Linked DNA regions of Homo sapiens: region 2 is linked to region 1. Evidence: promoter capture Hi-C in 16 types of primary human blood cells and fetal thymus (Javierre and others, 2016). All regions are on one chromosome and are shown on one strand. The core of a region is centred on a gene start or on the middle of the fragment in contact, and the rest is flanking DNA. Distances in the headings are between cores, read along the strand shown.

Evidence for each region. Contacts are between HindIII fragments. The CHiCAGO score rates a contact against its expected background, and 5 or more counts as called.
Region 2: a fragment that was not itself captured here is called in contact with the fragment with the promoter of NUGGC in region 1 in 2 of 17 cell types (M1 macrophages and endothelial precursors); the score reaches 5.7 in M1 macrophages.

The regions. Positions count from the first base shown.
Region 1 is chr8:28,082,031-28,086,103 of GRCh38, forward strand. NUGGC (nuclear GTPase, germinal center associated) reads right to left here and starts at 1,906. Exons shown (of 19, transcript NM_001010906.2): 1 at 1,745-1,906. The HindIII fragment of the contact is 3,402 bases long and covers 375-3,776 here.
Region 2 is chr8:28,295,223-28,299,295 of GRCh38, forward strand. No RefSeq gene overlaps it. Among named protein-coding and RNA genes, the nearest start is that of PNOC, 20 kb to the right of the region's middle. The HindIII fragment of the contact is 3,459 bases long and covers 551-4,009 here.

The sequences.
Region 1 (4,073 bases), core at 656-3,155:
TTAGGTTTAAGTAACTTTGGTGTTGGCAACATTTCCTAACCACCTCGTTGGCCACTGCACTGCTCTTCCAAACTAGGGATGTCCCAAGGCAGCAATTTAAACACATTAGCTCAGAAGCAAAAGTGAAACAAGGGCCTCCAAATCTCTAAAGGAAAAGAGGTATGTTTTCAGCATTAACACATCGGCTAATGTGTTCAGAATTAGAAATGTGGCCACCAGAAGCAGTCGTAGTAGAAGGGAGGCTTTAGGATGACATGTTTTTCTCCATCTTTCTTCCCTAGGTAAAGAGGTAAGCAAAATAAGCAGATATTTTCATAACGTACTTTAGCAGATTCTAGCGAAACGAATTTGAATCTTCTCATATTGCTCTCCCAAGCTTGTTAAAGCTAATGAGGCATAAGATGACACTTCCCTCCTTATCAGGAATTCATACACCTGCCAGCAATTTCTGCAATAGCTGTTTTCTTTTGGGAGGAATGATTAATGACTTGCCTAAGATCACACTGTTCTGTAAAATTCAAACTAAAACCTGATTCTCCCCATTTCTAGCCCACTGGCCTTTTTACATAGCCTTAAAATTCACTTAAACAGCCTGAGCATGGTGGCTCATGCCTGTAATCCCAGCACTTTGGGAGGCTGAGAGGAGAGGGGATCCCTTGGGCCCAGGAGCTTGAGACCAGCCTTGGCAACAAAGTGAGACCCTCATCTCTACAATTTTTTTTTTAATTAGCTGGGCATGGCAGCATGTATCTGTAGTCCCAGTTATTCAGGAGGCTGAGGCAGGAGGATTACTTGAGCCCAGAAGGTGAAGATTACAGTGAGCCATGTTCATACCACTGCACTCCAGCCTGGGTAACAGACCGAAGCCTCAAAAACAAACAAACCAAACCCCCAAAATTCACTTAAGCAAACAGAAAAGTAAAATTCACTTTCCCTCAAGAAATAACTTGCTTTAAGAAAATCAAAGGAGAGAGAAGAGACAAATGTCCCATATACAGAAGAATTCCAAATAATTTACGTAGCTACTCCATCCTCAAGGAGGTAGAATAAAACTCCCTGCTCCTTAAGTGTGTGCTGTGCATAGCAGCTTCTTTCCAAAGAGAACACGGCGGAGATTGGAGCAGGGAAAGGATCACCTTATAGCAGAGAAACCAGACAAGCGCTGCCTCTACCAGGTGGTCAAGGTCAACACCAACAGTCCTAAATCATGTTGACAATATTATCCCTTGATATGATGTGATGAGAACAGCACTTTAACTCTGGGACTCCTTCCCCAAAACCCATAACTCCAGTCTAATAATGAGAAAAACATCAGACAAATGCCAATAGGAGAAGCCTACAAAATACCCAACCAGTACTCCTCAAAACTGCCATATTCATCAAAAACAAGGAAAGTCTGAGAAACAACGCTACAGCTAAGAGGAGCCTAAGGGAACATAACTAAATATAATGTGCTATCCTGATAGGATGCCACAGTAGAAAGCAGACGTTAGATAAAAACCAAGAATCTGAATCAAGCACAGACTTTAGTTTAAGAATAACGTATCAGTATCGGTTCATCAGTTGTAACAAATGTACCACACTAATACAAGATAATGGGGAAGTTGGGTGGGAATTACATGGGAATGCTCTAAACTATCTTCTCAATATTCCTGTAAACTCAAAACTGTTCTAAAAATTAAGGTCCATTTTTAAAAAATCAACCACAAGTTACAGTACAAATTACATAAAAGAAACAACTTACCAGATGTCACTGAACAGAAAAAAAAAAAAAAAGTTCTGGTTTGGTTACAGGAGTCCACAGAGGAGATGGTGGCAGCTTCTCCTTGGTTCAGGTATTTGGAACCAGCTGGGGTACGTAGCCCTTTGGGCCACAATCACAAAGCCACGTTTACACAGCAGAAGTGAAACCAACTTGCCATCAGGGAGCTATTTACCATGGTCTCCTCCCACAGATACTGATTTATTCTGTCTTCTTTCACTTAAATCTAAATTCACCAGGCACGGTGGCTCACTCCTGTAATCCCAGCACTTTGGGAGGCTGAGGCAGGCAGATCACTTGAGGTCAGGAGTACAACAGCAGCCTGGCCAACATGGTGAAACCTTGACTCTACTAAAAATACAAAAAAAAAAAAAAAATCAGCCAGGCGTGGTGGCAGAACCCTGTAGTCCCAGCTACTCAGGAGGCTGAAGCAAGAGAATCACTTGAGCCTGGGAGGTGGAGGTTGCAGTGAGCCAAGATCGCGCCACTGCACTCCAACCTGGATGATGGAGCAAGACTACATCTCGAAAAAAAAAAAAATCTAAATGGTACATGAAACGGGGATCTTGCACCCTTCTCTGCCATGTTCCTACAAGTAGACAGATGTCTTTTTTCCTTTCCAAGTGCATCACTGCATCCTTCCACAGCATCTTTTCTCTGAGGGTGAACAATATTCAGATGACTGGTTCACTGGAGCAGACAGGAAAAATGCCCCAGTTCCAAGACAGACAAAGCACTGGCTCCCCGACACCCAACTATAAGACATGACTGGGAGAGATGGAGGATATGAGATAATAAATATAAAGTTATTCTTGACCCAAAGTCTTAAAATTCACCAAAAATAACATTTGCCAAAAATAAAACAACATTGGATTGTTTGAGTGTAGAAATGAGTGATATACCGCTTTACACCTCTTTCTGGAACTTAAATTTTAAATCCGTATATTTTTATGTCTTTATTTAGTTAGAGACAAGGTCTTGCTCTGTCACCCAGCCTGGAGTGCAGTGGCGTGATCATAGCTCACAGCAGCCTCGACCTCCCAGGCTCAAGCCATCCTCCCACCTCAGCCTCCTGGGTAGCTGGGACCATGGTCATGCTCCATCACGCCCATCTAATTTTAAATTCATATTTTTAATAAACCCAGAAAACAAAAATTTGAAAGTGCTGTCCAGGAGAGAAGAAAATAAAACCCACTCCACTTTGCTGTGTCTGGCAACCCAAACCATCACATCACATACAGGGAAAAAGTTGTCCCTTGAACCCTCAGCTTCAGGGTGTGTGTTACCTTTTTTTTTTTTTTGTGAGACACAGTCTTGCTCTGTCACCCAGGCTAGAGTGCAGTGGCGCCGTCTCAGCTCACTGCAACCTCCGTCTTCCGGGTTCAAGAGATTTTCCTGCCTCAGCCTCCTGAGTAGCTGGGACTACAGGGGTGCGTCACCATGCCTGACTTTTTTTTTTTTTAATTTTAGTAGAGACAGGGTTTCACCATGTTTGCCAGGCTGGTCTCGAACTCCTGATCTCATATGATCCGCCCACCTTGGCCTCCCAAAGTGCTGGGATTACAGGTATGAGCTACTGTGCTGGGCCAAGGGTGTATGTTACCTTTAAAGGCCAACTCAGTCATTACCAAGACAACCCTCAGTACTCTAGGTATGTATTTAGTCTGAAGAGGGGATTCAGAAGGTAAAGAGGTCAGAACAGGGAAAGAATTGAAGATAAATGTTTAGACTGTGGTCTTAAAAACTGCTTTGAACTTTTGGCAAGATGACGTCCCTCCTCCATAAGAAAACCACAGAAACACCAGGCTAAAGTTCAGAACAAAGAAAGTCAGCACAAATGCCATCCTGGATGCTGAGTCTTATACTGATCTCTCTAGGCAAAATCACACCTTACGCTTACATTCATGTCACGTGTGCTCAGCTCTCCCTCTACTGGCTATTTCTTAGCTTCAACAGTTAACCACAAATGCTACTAAATTACTTAATTATTAAAATTAATTTTGAGCATTTTTAAAGCTTCCTGGGGCAAGGCCCAGTGGCTCACACCTGTGATCCCTGCATTTTGGGAGGCCGAGGTGGACAGATCACCTGAAGTCAGGAGCTTGAGACCAGCCTAGCCAACATGGTGAAACCCTGTCTCTACTAAAAATACAAAATCTAGCCGGTCATGGCAGTGTGTGCCTGTAGTCCCAGCTACTCAGGAGGCTGAGGCAGGAGAATTGCTTGAACATGGGAGGCAGAGGTTGCAGTGAGCCAAGATCAGGCCACTGCACTCCAGCCTGGGCGACAAAGGGAGACTCCATCTCAAAAA
Region 2 (4,073 bases), core at 1,030-3,529, 210 kb after region 1:
AGTGATAAAGACGAAAACAGTGGCGAAATTAAAACTGTGACTTTCTATTAGATTGAAGGGAGGGGGGATCCTGGAGACGAGAACGGGAAAGCAAGCTGAGGGTTTAGTGCTTGCTGAGGAGTCTCAGTCTCACCTGGAGGCAATGGGTGACTCGGAGGGTGTGTGAGCAGGACGAGGGGCTCCTAGCTGTGTTTTGATAAGATGACTCTGGAAGCAGTGAAGATGCTGTAATCAGAAGAGGAGATTGAGCCAAGAAGTCTTGGTAAGCTCTTTATAACAGTCCAAGTTTACAACATTAGGGGCCCAACTAGGGACAGGGCAGTGACATTGGAAATGGAGCATTGTGGAGCTGTTTGGGATATTACCAGGGTCAGAGGTCCAGGTTCCTGGAAGGGATTGATGACATTAAGCAAGAAATGTACAGCACTTTGACTTTGACATTTCCACAACACCTTCCCCTCCCTTTCCTCATACCTGGGCTACAGCTGTCTCCCTAGGAGGGCTGCTCCCCTACCATGCAGTCTCTTCCCCACTCTGATCCATTCTCCAAAGCTTCCAAATGCTCCAAATGCATTTCCCCACTAGCTCAAGAACCTGTAGTGATTCCAGTCCAACTCATCGGATTCCTGGCAGAAAACGGAGAGGAAGCACTTCTGATCACTAACGGTCATTCCGCTGCATCTGCCTTCCAACCCCATTTGGGCCCTGGTGGCAGCCAAGCTCTGTCTCCCAGCATATGTGAGTCCTGTGCTGGTGTTTCCTTATGGTGCCCTACTCCCCTCCATTCCTCAAGATCCCTTGCTTTCCTCAAAACCCACCTTGGAAGTCGTCTCTAGAAAACTCTGCCCCTTCAGGGGCTGCCTCAACTGTAGCCCACAAATGACCATTGCCAACTGGACAAGCCCCCCAACTTTGGCTCCCTGTCCCCTCCTCCCCACTGAAGACTAGCAGCACAGAGTTGGCCCTGCTGCCCAAAGGGGCTGCATCTGGGCCCCCCGACCTGGCAGAAATGATGGCTCCCTGAATCTCTCTCCAGCAGATGACAAGAAGACAGAACTCTGCGTCTGCGAGCTGCAGAGACTCCTGCCTCCCCAAGTCCCTGGCTTTCACTCTATGTCCCACCCATTCTGCAAGGAGTCAGGGGGTGGAATGTTCTAAGACGCCAACCTGTCACTGAAGCTCCCACTCCACTCTGCTGACACCTGACTGCCCAGAGGACTCACGGGGCCGGGGCAACCTGCCATCCCTGGTGTCAGCAATCTACCAAAGAAGTGAAGCCTCCGAGATTTCTTTGACCAGGAGAGAAGAAGGTATTCAGCAATGCAGAGAAGATAAATACTGCAGATTAGATAACTGGACAACACGCTTGAAATTATTCAGTGGCACAGCCATCTTTTAATTACCTTGGAACGGGAGATAAGAGTAATGGAAAGCTACAGATAATTCATTAGTTTCTAAAAACCTTGCACATCCAATGTGCCATTTGAAGTCGATGCTTACAAGACACAGAAGAGGCTGGTGAAGGGTTTTCAGGAAGGAAGTAAAATCCAAACAACAGGAAAAACACAATTTGTTCTTCATAAATGCTAAGTGCGGCACAATGCAGTTATTAGCCACAACTCTACACACTCTTTCCCATTAATGGATAAGTTAAATCTTTTCCAAGTGTGACAAGTGGCATCCAATCACTCCCTAGGGATTTTCTGTTCTTTAGCCACTTACCAGTCACAATAGATTTTTCTGCAGTTCCATTTAAAACGTTATTCTCTGGGGGGTCTTCTAGTTTACTTTGAATAGCCTGTAACAAATATTCCCAACCAAGAGCAGATAGGCTTGCTCCAACCCACTCTAACAGAGAGAGAAGTCTGCCCAGCCCAGGTATTAAATGACTTCATGACTACAAAACAGCAGGGTGGAGCCAGGCCAGCTCCAAAGCTAATTCAGCTCTCTCACTTTTACAGATGAGGACAGTGAGTTCCAGGAAGGGAAAAGGACATGTCCAAGGTCACGCGAACTAACAAGTAATAGAATCTACACCAGATCTGGATCCCTTAAGTTCTGAGACCATATCTAATTTTAAATAGACATTTTCTTTCTATTTTCTGGTTCTTTCTACAGCCTGAGGGGGCATGAGATGCTCCACCCAGGTCCCCCTTGAAGGAAAGCCTTAGGGCCTGGCTGTGGGAAGCATGGTCAGCACAAAGCTGCTAGCTCTCAGTTCCTTCGGGATCTGCCTCGACTAGAGATGTCTGTGCCACTGGAGGCTGCATCCTTCCTGGGAAACCCAGCACCCAGTGACAGAGGTGGGTGGGGTACAAAGGCCCAGCCATTTCTGCCCAGCAAGGGCTACACCGAGGCCTAATATTCACTCCACGGCTCCCCAATGCCACTCTCTCCAGAATGTGGTCTTCCTGCCTCCCCAACCAATGATGCAGCAGGAGAGGGAAATGAGACGCCTGGGGTGGCTGGACCATCTCCTTGCAGGCCTCTGCCCAGCAACCCCAAACTCACACCCCAGACCCCTTCAGTTCACTTGGAATGGAGCAGGTTCCAGGAGCTGGCCAAGCAATTGCATGTGAGCACATAGATGCCCTTGTGCCTTCTCCTGGGGAGCTATGGGTCACTCATATCCTTGTGGCATTGATAGCATTTGTTGGTTTTGCTTAAAGAGGTAGGAAGTTTAAAAAAATAAGGCATGATTTGGCAGAAAAGCACAAGACACTTGGGTTCCAGTTATTTGAGCATTTGTGGGTGAAGTGACCCTATGTCCAGTATGCCTGGTTCGTGCCTGTCACCCCAGGGTCATTATCAATAGCGCTGCCTTTCACCCTCAAATGCCTCAAATACCTCAATTGTGGCCACCCCATGCAAAAGCCATAGTACCTCAGAGCAAGTCTATCTGGCTGTCTATCCTCCTCTCCGGTCTTGGATATTTTGAGAGAGAGAGGAAGATGGTGTCCTGGGTGGTAAGTGGAAAGAATGCCCTTCCAGGACAGACTTGGGTTTGAATGACCTCTGGACCAGGCACTAGCTCAGAGACTTTGGATGAGTTCCCAGCCTCTTACTGCCTTATCTGAGAAATGGAAGTAATTAAACACACCTAGCCTTTCATGCATGGTTGTTGAGAACACCGAGTCAAATACTTGTTACAAAGTTTCTCTGGAAACTGTGAAGCCCTATTCAGATGTAAGTATGGACAAAATGCCTAGCAATAAGTATTTGCTAAATGATTGAATGCTTGACTCATTGAATGGGTGGAATGGGGGGAATGTTAGGTATAATTATTATCAATGTGTGACAATGATAAAACAACAACCAGGTTTTTTTTTTTTTCAAGTTGATGGGTCACCCCTCGAGAGGTAAAGTCTATTCCCCTAGTCTTGAATATGGGCTGGACTTAGGGACACATTTCTAAGGAAGACAACAGAAAACAGCACAAGTGACACTGCATGTGTTCCAAGGCTAGACTATGAAAGGTACTTTAGCCTGGCTCTCTCTTGGGACGCTTGCTCTTCAATCCCTGCTGCCATGTTGTGAAGAAACCCAGGCAACAATGGAGAGGCTGAGTATATTCATTCTAGTCCTCAGCCCCAGTGGAGGTCCTGGCAAACAGACAGCATCAACAGACAGCCTTTGAGATGACTGCACCTCCCATCAATGTCTTATTGCATCCTCACAAGAGACCCCCAGTGAGAACCACCTCCTGAGCTCAGTCAGCAATAAATGATTGTTTTGTGTTTAAAAAAAAAAGTCAATGGGAATGTGTTCTGAAAGCAAGATGCATCTCTTGGAGCAAACTGCCTCCCAAGGATATGAGAAGGGCCAAGCTAGGTATGACTCTCTGCCTCTGCAGCTGGAAATGTACAGCCCTGACAGCAGCCTCTGGGGTGCGCCACCCAAAGCATTCCATTTTCTCTAATAGCCAATTATAACTGTCATCTCTGCAAGTATCTTAATCTTTGAAATTACTTTTGCAGGCACTACCACCTCTTGGGATAATGGTTCCATAAGCTTCTTCCCTATGAAACTCCTCCAGAATTTGAAAAATAAATGCATGTCCACTTTATCCACTG